Regions from separate parts of the Homo sapiens genome. Here region 2 is linked to region 1. The links are contacts of gene promoters, found by promoter capture Hi-C in blood cells and fetal thymus (Javierre and others, 2016). All regions are on one chromosome and are shown on one strand. The core of a region is centred on a gene start or on the middle of the fragment in contact, and the rest is flanking DNA. Distances in the headings are between cores, read along the strand shown. Region 1 holds the start of SRGN (serglycin). Region 2 overlaps VPS26A (VPS26 retromer complex component A).

Region 1 (4,685 bases), core at 526-3,025:
CCTAAAACAAGGGAAGGGAAACTCCTCCCTCCTATCAAAGGCCAGGCAAGGGCGAGGATGAGAATGGAAAGTGGGGCACGTGCATTAAGCCGTCTGGGGGAGCGGTAGGGATAGACATGTTGAAATGGAGAGTGGTTGAATCTTGAAAGGAAGTAAGGAAAATGTATATGCCACAAGGGCAAGGATGTATGATAGGCTTGTATTTATTGTATAACTTTATTTTATTTTATTTTATTATTTTTAGTTTTTTGAAATAGAGTCTCTCTCTGTCACCCAGGCTGGAGTGCAATGGCACGATCTTGGCTCACTGCAACCTCTGCCTCCCGGGTTCAAGCGATTCTCCTACCCCAGCCTCCCGAGTAGCTGGGACTACAGGCACTCGCCACCACGCCCGGCTAATTTTTTGTATTTTTAGTGGAGACGGGGTTTCACGGTGTTAGCCAGGATGGTCTCGATCTCCTGACCTTGTGATCCACCCACCTCAGCCTCCCAAAGTGCTGGGATTACAGGTGTGGACCACAGCACCTGGCCTTTATTGTATAACTTTAATATGGAGCCTTAGTCCTCCAGAAATCTGCACCATGCCCAGGGAAAATGCTGTTCCTTTATTTACATGAGGCAGAGGTTTGTGTTGTTTGCTGAGGTCCAGCAGCTCACTGTGAGGACAACCTCTCCCTCGTTCCTGATTTCTGGCTTATTCAAGGCCAGAGGACCCAAAACTCGAGTTGAAAATTTTGACTAGGAGAACAGATAAAAATAGAAATGGAATCCATCTTAAGAAATGCTCAATGTGAAGGAGAGGGGAATGCAAAATAGTTTTTCTGTTTTACCACAGTCTTTGTAACTGAAAATCCTATGTTCTTGAGATAGAGAGAGAGCCAATGATCCAATGCAAGAAACTGAGTTTAAGAAGAAACTGTTTGCTGGGCACGGTGGCTCACGCCTGTAATCCCAGCACTTTGGGAGGCTGAGGCAGGCGGATGGCCTGAGGTTGGGAGTTTGAGGCCAGCCTGGCCAACATGGTGACACGTCGTCTCTACTAAAAATACAAAATTAGTCCAGCGCAGTGGTGTACGCCTGTAATCCCAGCTACTCAGGAGGCTGAGGCAGGAGAATTGCTTGAACCCTGGAGATGGAGGTTGCAGTGAGCTGAGATCGCGCCACTGCTCTCCAGCCTGGGTGACAGAGTGAGACTCCATCTCAAAAAAAAAAAAAAAAAAAAAAAAAAGAAGAAAAAGAAGAAGAAGAAACTGTTCATCTGAAATCCGACAACTCATTCTTGAAGGTTAGAGCTCAGCTTTGAAGTTTCACTTCACGAGCTTGGCTCAGTGAGGTATGTTACTCCCCGGTGAAAAAGAAAATGAAGAGAATGTTTTATGTTGAAAGTGCTTGGTGACGAAAAGGCAGCACCTAGATCCCTTATCTCATAAAAAATGCAGCAGATTCTTAATATTAGCAATCTAGTGTTTAGATTGTTACCTGAAGAAAGGAAAAACAAACTGTCCCAAATGCTGATTCTACTGTTTCGGTGGGAAAAAAAAATGTCTTGCAGGCAAGTGGCAAACAACAAAACTTTTGAAAAAGCAGGCCTGGGGGGAGTCCAGTACAGTTTCATAATGGGTATGAATAGTTATTTTACTGTGTTCCCCCCACCCCCTTTCTTTCTGGGTTTTGATGTGGATGTCTTTCTATTTGTTCAGGAAATTGTGACGTGTGTTCTGGGCAGGGTTTGAGGTTTTGGAACATTTTCTAAAAGGGACAGAGAGCACCCTGCTACATTTCCTAATCAAGAAGTTGGCGTGCAGCTGGGAGAGCTAGACTAAGTTGGTCATGATGCAGAAGCTACTCAAATGCAGTCGGCTTGTCCTGGCTCTTGCCCTCATCCTGGTTCTGGAATCCTCAGTTCAAGGTAAGACTCAGGAGTCTTGTTCCCCAGCCATCTTCTCTGTAAGCCCTGTGGTCCATGCAAGTCATTATATTCATTTTAAGGCATAGAATGTATAATATTGTGAGAAAGGAGGCAAAGAAGAAGGATTTGGGGTCGCTGAACCCTTTAATATGAGTTCTGTTAAGTTTGGTACCAAGAAAAATTAAACTCTGTGGCGTGTGCAGTCTTGTAAACTCTTACAATGATTGAAATGTGCTATTTTGGGATGAAAATGTGAGGTTTATAAATTTTAAAAGCTCAAAAAAGGAATCTAGAAAATGACTCCTGTGCCTGTTGCATGGAGGAGATGGCACCTTTGACTGTTGGGGGGTGTCTGCCTACCCCTAAGTGTCTACATCAGCCCCAAGTTTTAGTGCGCTGTGACGGTGTCATTGTTATTTTAACACTGGGAGACGTTATATTCCAATTGGGGTGAATCTGACTGTGTGTATTTTCTTTTCTTTTTTTTTTTTTTAAAGATAAACTTGGTTCTTACTGAAAACTCAATTATGGTTAGACATAGTTCATGTAAAACCTCTCAGATTTTAAAGAGAAGGCCAAATAATTTGGTATTTGTGCTCTTGCTCAGAGAAGCATCATATTCGGAAATATCTTCCTAGGTTTATCTACCATTTAGTGTTGTTTAGTCAGACTGAAACAACTTAAAACCTGTAATGACTAAGACAATGAAAATGATAGGCTTGTAAGAAAAATACAATTTGTTATTCTTTGGCAAATAAGGAATCATGTCTAAATAAGACGGAGGTCATGGCTTGATAGAGAGATGGCTGAACCTATAGTAGAAAAACACTAGGTTCCGCCAAATGGTAAGGGAAATGTTGAGTCACAATGACACACATGTCCTAGATTTGTTTCGTCAAAGCGACTTTTGGTTGTCATGATCTTACTTCCGGTGGAGATGAAATCTTACAGATGATCGCAGAGACATTCATTTTATGTTGGAAATTTATAAAATCATTTTCTTCTAGTTATGCTAATGCTGAAAAAAGAGCAAGTAATGTTTCTGGAACGTTATTAATTTATGTATTTTTAAAATATAAAACATTGTCAATTGTAGGGAACAGGCTTCACTGGGATCTTTTAGGGAATATCTTCAGCTTGATGAAATAATTCCCGAATAGCCAAGTGGTCTGACAAGATCGAGAGTAATGAGGCCCATACTTTAGTACAGTCTTGAATGGCCAGATGGTGCTGGGCATACCCCAACCAGAGATATGTAAGTCTTTATGTTGTCAAAATTTCCCAGAAACATGAATTTCCCACTAAGATTCATTAAGGAAAACTAGAATGAAAACAAAAACGTTCCTTGTATAATATTCATTAGAAAGAAATGAAGAAGGCCGGGCATGGTGGCTCACGCCTGTAATCCCAGCACTTTGAGAGGCCAAGGTAGGCAGATCATGAGGTCAGGAGTTTGAGACCAGCCTGGCCAACATAGTGAAATCCCGTCTCTACCAAAAATACAAAAAAATTAGCCGGGCATGGTGGCACACACCTGTCATCCCAGCTACTCAGGAGGCTGAGGCAGGAGAATTGCTTGAACCTGGGAGGTGGAGGTTGCAGTGAGCTGAGATTGCACCACTGTACTACAGCCTAGGTGACAGTGCAAGACTCTGTCAGAAAGAAAGAAAGAGAGAGAGAGAGAAAGAAAGGAAAGAAAGAAAGAGAAGGAAAGAAAATAATTCATCATGAAATTGTATAGAATACTAGCATTTATGTCATGACCTCGTAGGTTTAGCTCTTTGTTAGAAAAGGAAACCATAGAAAGAGACAAGGGAGAAACTGACAAACTAGGGTGTTTCCGAAAAAAGGCTCTCAGTATCGGGCTCAAGGGCTTGTGCCCACATCTGAGCATGCAGGGAAATAGATGTCCCCCACTGGCTGCACATGTGAGTGACTGCGGCACAAGGCTGTGATGTGAAGAGTCGTGACACCATTTCCTCACACCTCCACGCAATGCCAGATATGATTCGACAACATTCTTCCTGTCTTATAAAAAGTGTTTATCTAGCCCGTTGGTTTGGCAGATGAAATCAACTAGGCTTTTGGCTTGCTTTTACTGAGCATATTCAAAACCATTTCAGGTCACTATAGTGGTTTGCTCGGGTTGCCATAACAAAGTACCACGGACTGAGTGGCTTAAATAACAGAAATGTATTTCCTCACAGTTCTGGAGATGGGAGTCCAAGATCAAGGTGCTGGCAGGGTCGATCGCATTCTGAGGCCTCTCTCCTTGGCTTATAGATGGCGCCTTCTCCCTTGTCTGCACATGGCCTTTCCTCCATGCATCCGTGTCTTAATACCATCTTCTTAGAGGGTCACCAGGCATTGGATCAGGGCCACCCTAATGGCCTCATCTTAACTACCTATATCTGCAATGACCCTATTTCTGAACAATTTCACATTGTGAGATTCTGTGGGTTAGAACTGGAACATATGAATTTGGTGGTGGTATATTTTTATTATAAGTCAAACCCAAGTAAAGATGTGGGGTAAGATTGTGTTTACCAAGCACAAAGAAATGGAAATTTGGGGATGTGTAACTCTGGAGAGCACAGATGACTAATCTATTTAATGTAGGGCTCCAGGGGATTTGATGAGGCCTGTGAATCTTCCACTTTTATTGCCTCTCTTTTCCAATGACACCCATAAAGAAAAAAAATGGAATATCCATGAACAGGTGCAGCCAAGGAGGCCAGGCCCGCCATGTGTCCACTGTATACTGTCTCCTAGCTCA
Region 2 (5,090 bases), core at 2,488-4,987, 72 kb after region 1:
AAGTAAATTAGTTGACCTACTGAAATTTTCATCTGCCTGCATTTTTCACCATCCTTCTTATAATTAGCAGCCTCACCTTCATTCTTCATTTTCTAATTACCCATGCCATTTGTCTTCCTGATCTAGTGTGTGCCTGTAGCCAGACTCACTTGTGTCAACACACAATTCCATGTGAGAAGGAAAGGTGTAGTTTCTTCTTGACTTAGATCAACTTATGTACATTTCCATACATGATTCCAGATGAATGCTTGATTTAGTAGGGAGTTAAACTATATAAATCTTTCTATACTGAAGATTCAGAAGAGAAAAGAAAATATGTCTTTATAATACTGTCTACATAACTAGGCTTAAAATCTAGCTTTCTAAGTTTCAGTGTACATTTTTAAAGTATCAGAATTGGAATGGGTAGATATTTATATATCTGTTCTGACTGAGAGTGTACTTACATGTCTATTCTGACTGAGAGGCAAGTTGTAGTAATTGATAGTTGGTTTTAGTCTTTTTGTGTTTTGTAATTTTATGAAGGTAATATATTTGCCTAACTAAAGCAAAATAGAATTTTTGCCTTGTCTAGGGGAAGTTCAAATAATTGCTGGTAATGTGTCAAATGGCTTCATATTGGGAGAGCCCCAACTACATCAAAGGAATGAACTCATTTTTAAAGAAATTTTCATTGTGCTATGCCACTTGAAATCTTTTATGCCTACATGAAGTATAATTATAAAAAGGATAATGGAATTCAGAGCATAGGTCTAGTTTATTAGAGACAAACTCAATAATTCTTTTGGTAAAAATCGTTTGTGTTTGAAGTAGATGTCTGGGTTTTATTGAAATGGCTATTAAATAATTGGTCTTTTTGCCTTTTAAAATTTCTCAGAACTTTTCAATGACAAGAGTAATACTCATGAATTTGTAAACCTAGTGAAAGAACTAGCCTTACCTGGAGAACTGACTCAGAGCAGAAGTTATGATTTTGAATTTATGCAAGTTGAAAAGCCATATGAATCTTACATCGGTGCCAATGTCCGCTTGAGGTATGAATGTGTATTATAAACTGTAAACAGAATCAAAACCAGAAAGTAATGACTACTGTTGATATCTTATTTGAACCTCTAATTATAATTCTGTATTGGAAGATTTAAGATTTTTAAAAATTCTGTCACATACTTTGGCTAATGCTGATTTGAGGTAATAGAGCGTTCTAACATTATAGAGTTAGACAACATTGTTATGAGACATTTCAGTTATACACTTCCCTGGTATGAATTGTCCCTTACGTACTTCATTTGTCATGTAAACTGAATGACCTTCTAAATCCACTAGTTTCCCAGAAAATCTCCTTTAGTATATGGTTCAGAAGTAATCTGGAGTACCAGAGAGGCTCTGATACATCTAAAATGACACAAATAGTGGATGGCAGAAAAGGAGTACGAACCTAGTTTTCTAAACTCTCAATTCAGTGTCCTTTCCCTTCACTAAGTCTGTATGCAGGAAGCCAGGGATGCCTCAGAGTCCAGGGCATTTCAGGATATTAATCTGAATGCATCAGGTCCGAGATCTTGCTTTCTCTGTTTAACTTGGCATTATCTATCTGGAACTGGGTTTGACAACCCAAATTTCAAATAGCAGTTCCTTAAAGAAGTGATCTGGAGAGGTTTCTTCAAGTAGGCTTGATGACAGCCCTCCAAACTCATCTGTAAAGTATTTACACTATTCTTAAAATTGAACTTTGTATTTTTTTTCATGTTGGGGGCATTAAAGAAAATTGGAACTCCTTCGTGAAGTAATGAAGTAAGTTGATCCCAAAGGAGTTCCAGCAAGGAGGAGAAGCCTGAGTTGCAGTTAATGTTTGCTGATTTAAAACATGAAAATTTATCACAGGTGATTTAACTCATCGACTCTCTTTTAACTTTGTAGGTATTTTCTTAAAGTGACAATAGTGAGAAGACTGACAGATTTGGTAAAAGAGTATGATCTTATTGTTCACCAGCTTGCCACCTATCCTGATGTTAACAACTCTATTAAGATGGAAGTGGGCATTGAAGATTGTCTACATATAGAATTTGAATATAATAAATCAAAGTAAGTATCATTCACAGATAAGTTGTTCAGAGAAAATTCAAAAATTAACTTTTCAGGTGTTTGTCAGTTGGTCAAAGTAAGGATAGAATTGACATTAATCTGATGTTAACAAATCAACAGGATCTCTGAGCTAAAAGAAATTTTAGGAGTTTGGTCTGGTTTCCACTCAGTAAAGGTGTCTTTTATGTTCTATTCCTGATAAATCTCTGCTTGGCCACTTTGTGTAGAGGATGTCACCATCTCAGAAGGCAGCCAGTCCTTCTGAGGATACAATTTATCTTACTGGCTTGATATTACCTCATCCTAGCCATCTCTTTTCACATATTTTCACCTTTACCACTTAATCACTGTTAATGTCTCCTTGTATATCATTTCTTGGGGGGAGGGGGAAGGTATATATGTTTATATATGTTGTATTTTTACAAAACTGGCTCATATTTTGCTTGTGTTTAATGCCTTTTTAAATTTTATTATGGGAAATTTCAAGCATATACTAAAATATTTGAACAGTATACTGAATAATATAATGAATCCTCATGTACCCATTGCCCAGCTCCAACAGTTATCAACACACAATCCAGTTTATCTGTATTCAGCTCTCATACTCCCCATAGGTTATATTGAAGCAAATTCCAGACATTTAATTTAACCCATAAAATTATGTATCATTTTATCAATTAAATTATATATGTGGAATTTGCTTCGATACAATCTGTGGGAAGCTGTATCAATATCATTTTATACATGGACTAAGATGTTCTCAGAAACATTACTTACATGAACAAAAGATTGCCATTTAAATGCCCACTGGTATTATAACAGTTAAATAAATTATGGTCCAGCCATACTGTGGAATGCTAAAGAAGGGTTAAAAAGATTGAGGCCGGGTGCGGTGGCTCACACCTGTAATCCCAGCACTTTGGGAGGCCAAGGTGGGCAGAGTTTGATCACCTGAGGTCAGGAGTTTGAGACCAGCATGGTCAACATGGAGAAACTCCGTCTCCACTGAAAATACAAAAATTAGATGGGTGTGGCGGTGCATGCCTGTAATCCCAGCTACTTGGGAGGCTGAGGGAGGAGAATTGCTTGAACCTGGGAGGTAAAGGTTGCAGTGTGCTGAGATCACGCCACTGCAGTCCAGCCTGGGTGACAGAGGGAGACTCCATCTCAAAAAAAAAAACAAAAAAAAAAGATTGAGACATATGTATTTAGTTCTCCAGAAGCGTGTCCATGATATATTAAGTGAAAAATTTAGCCATAAAAACAGCATGCATAGTACTGTTTCATTTCTGTAAAATACTCATGTATTTGGATATGAATAGAAAAGAGTCTGCAATGATATTCTGTTGTTAACAGTGGTTATCTGTAAAGGATGAAATTATGTATTGACTTTACATATCTCTTATTTAAATGTTATATGACAAGCTTGTTTTCTGTGTCTATTCAGAAAAAAGTTTTAAAAAGTTATATATCATTCTAAATATAACTACAATACTCTTATATCTAAAAATATTAGTAATTCCTTAATATCTTCATACACCCAGACAGTATTCACATTTCCCTAATTGGCTCACAGATATCTTTCTTTTTTCACATACTTTGTTCAAATCAATATTTAAACTAGGGCCACACATTGCATTTGGTTGTTTGAGCCTTAAATTTTTTAATTTATAGGTTTCCCTTCTATTTTTTTTATTAAAGTTTGTTTGTTGAAGAAATGGATGTGCCCTGTATTATCCCTTTCATACCCCAGTCTTTTGTTACATTATTTTTATTGGTTGTCACTCCCAGGTTTATATCACTGAATATGTAATACATATGGACTTCAGAATCTTAAAATTATATTGTTGATGAAATTATCAAATAGTTTAGGACCTGAAACCACTGAAGCTTCCCTTCAGACTGACATAATTTTTACACACACACACACACACACACACACACACACACACACACAGTTTTTTGTTTGTTTGAGTCTCACTTTGTCGCCCAGGCTGGAGTGCAATGGCGTGATCTCGGCTCACTGCAACCTCTGCCTCCTGGGTTCAAGGGATTCTCCTGCCTCAGCCTCCTGAGTAGCTGGGATTACAGGTGCCTGCCACTATGCCTGGCTAATTTTTGTATTTTTAGTGGAGACGGGGTTTCACCATGTTGGTCAGGCTGGTCTCAAACTCCTGACCTCATGATCCACCCGCCTTGGCCTCCCAAAGTGCTGGGATTATAGGCATGAGCCACCGCGCCCAACATATTTTTTTTTTTTTGGAGTCGGAATCTCTGTCGTCCCGTCTGGAGTGCAGTGGCATGATCTCGGCTCACTGCAACCTCTACCTCCTGAGTTCAAGCAATTCTCCTGCCTCAGCCTCCTGAGTAGCTGGGATGACAGGCATGTGCCACCACGCCCGGCTAATTTTTGTAGTTTTAGTAGAGATGGGGTTTCACCATGTTGGCTAGGCTGGTCTTGAACTCCTGACCTCAGGTGATCTGCCCGCCTTGGTCTCCCAAAGTGCTGGGATTACAGGCGTGCCCGGCCTGACATAATTTATATTAACCAACTCTTGAGATACAATTTTGAGAGCCAAACCTGGGAGGATGCTAAAAAGTCCTCTGGATATTATAGGGATTCCTAAGTTTATTACCACATCATTACAAGGTACGTGGGAGCGACCTTTGGTTATTAGCTATCACAACAGCAGACTCAACCTATGTAGGTAGGTTTCTTTTACTTTGTCTTTGTGGGCAGATGATTTATGTTAGCTGCACTCTTGTAGAACTTGAGTAATAATGACACTAAACTCTTGTGTCTTTTAATGTTGAAAATATCTTCATACACCAAATATTTCAAGTATTTTTTGTGTGTGTTTGTTTTGAGAAAGAGTCTGGCTCTGTCACCCAGGCTGGAGTGCAGTGGCACAATCATGAGTCACTGCAGCCTCAATCTCCCAGGCTCAAATTATCATCTCACCTCAGCCTCCTGAGTAGCTAGGATCACAGGCATGTGCCACTAATTT

What was found. The method cuts DNA at HindIII sites, captures the fragments that hold promoters and counts their contacts. A CHiCAGO score of 5 or more calls a contact.
Region 2: a fragment that was not itself captured here is called in contact with the fragment with the promoter of SRGN in region 1 in 1 of 17 cell types (monocytes); the score reaches 5.1 in monocytes.

What each region holds. Positions count from the first base shown.
Region 1 is chr10:69,086,328-69,091,012 of GRCh38, forward strand. SRGN (serglycin) reads left to right here and starts at 1,776. Exons shown (of 3, transcript NM_002727.4): 1 at 1,776-1,909. The coding sequence starts at 1,831. RefSeq lists enhancers at 90-259, 1,907-3,106 and a silencer at 3,805-3,984. The HindIII fragment of the contact is 21,371 bases long and covers 1-4,685 here.
Region 2 is chr10:69,156,130-69,161,219 of GRCh38, forward strand. It overlaps VPS26A (VPS26 retromer complex component A), which reads left to right. Exons shown (of 9, transcript NM_004896.5): 4 at 878-1,034; 5 at 1,918-2,082. Among named protein-coding and RNA genes, the nearest start is that of SUPV3L1, 22 kb to the right of the region's middle. The HindIII fragment of the contact is 465 bases long and covers 3,506-3,970 here.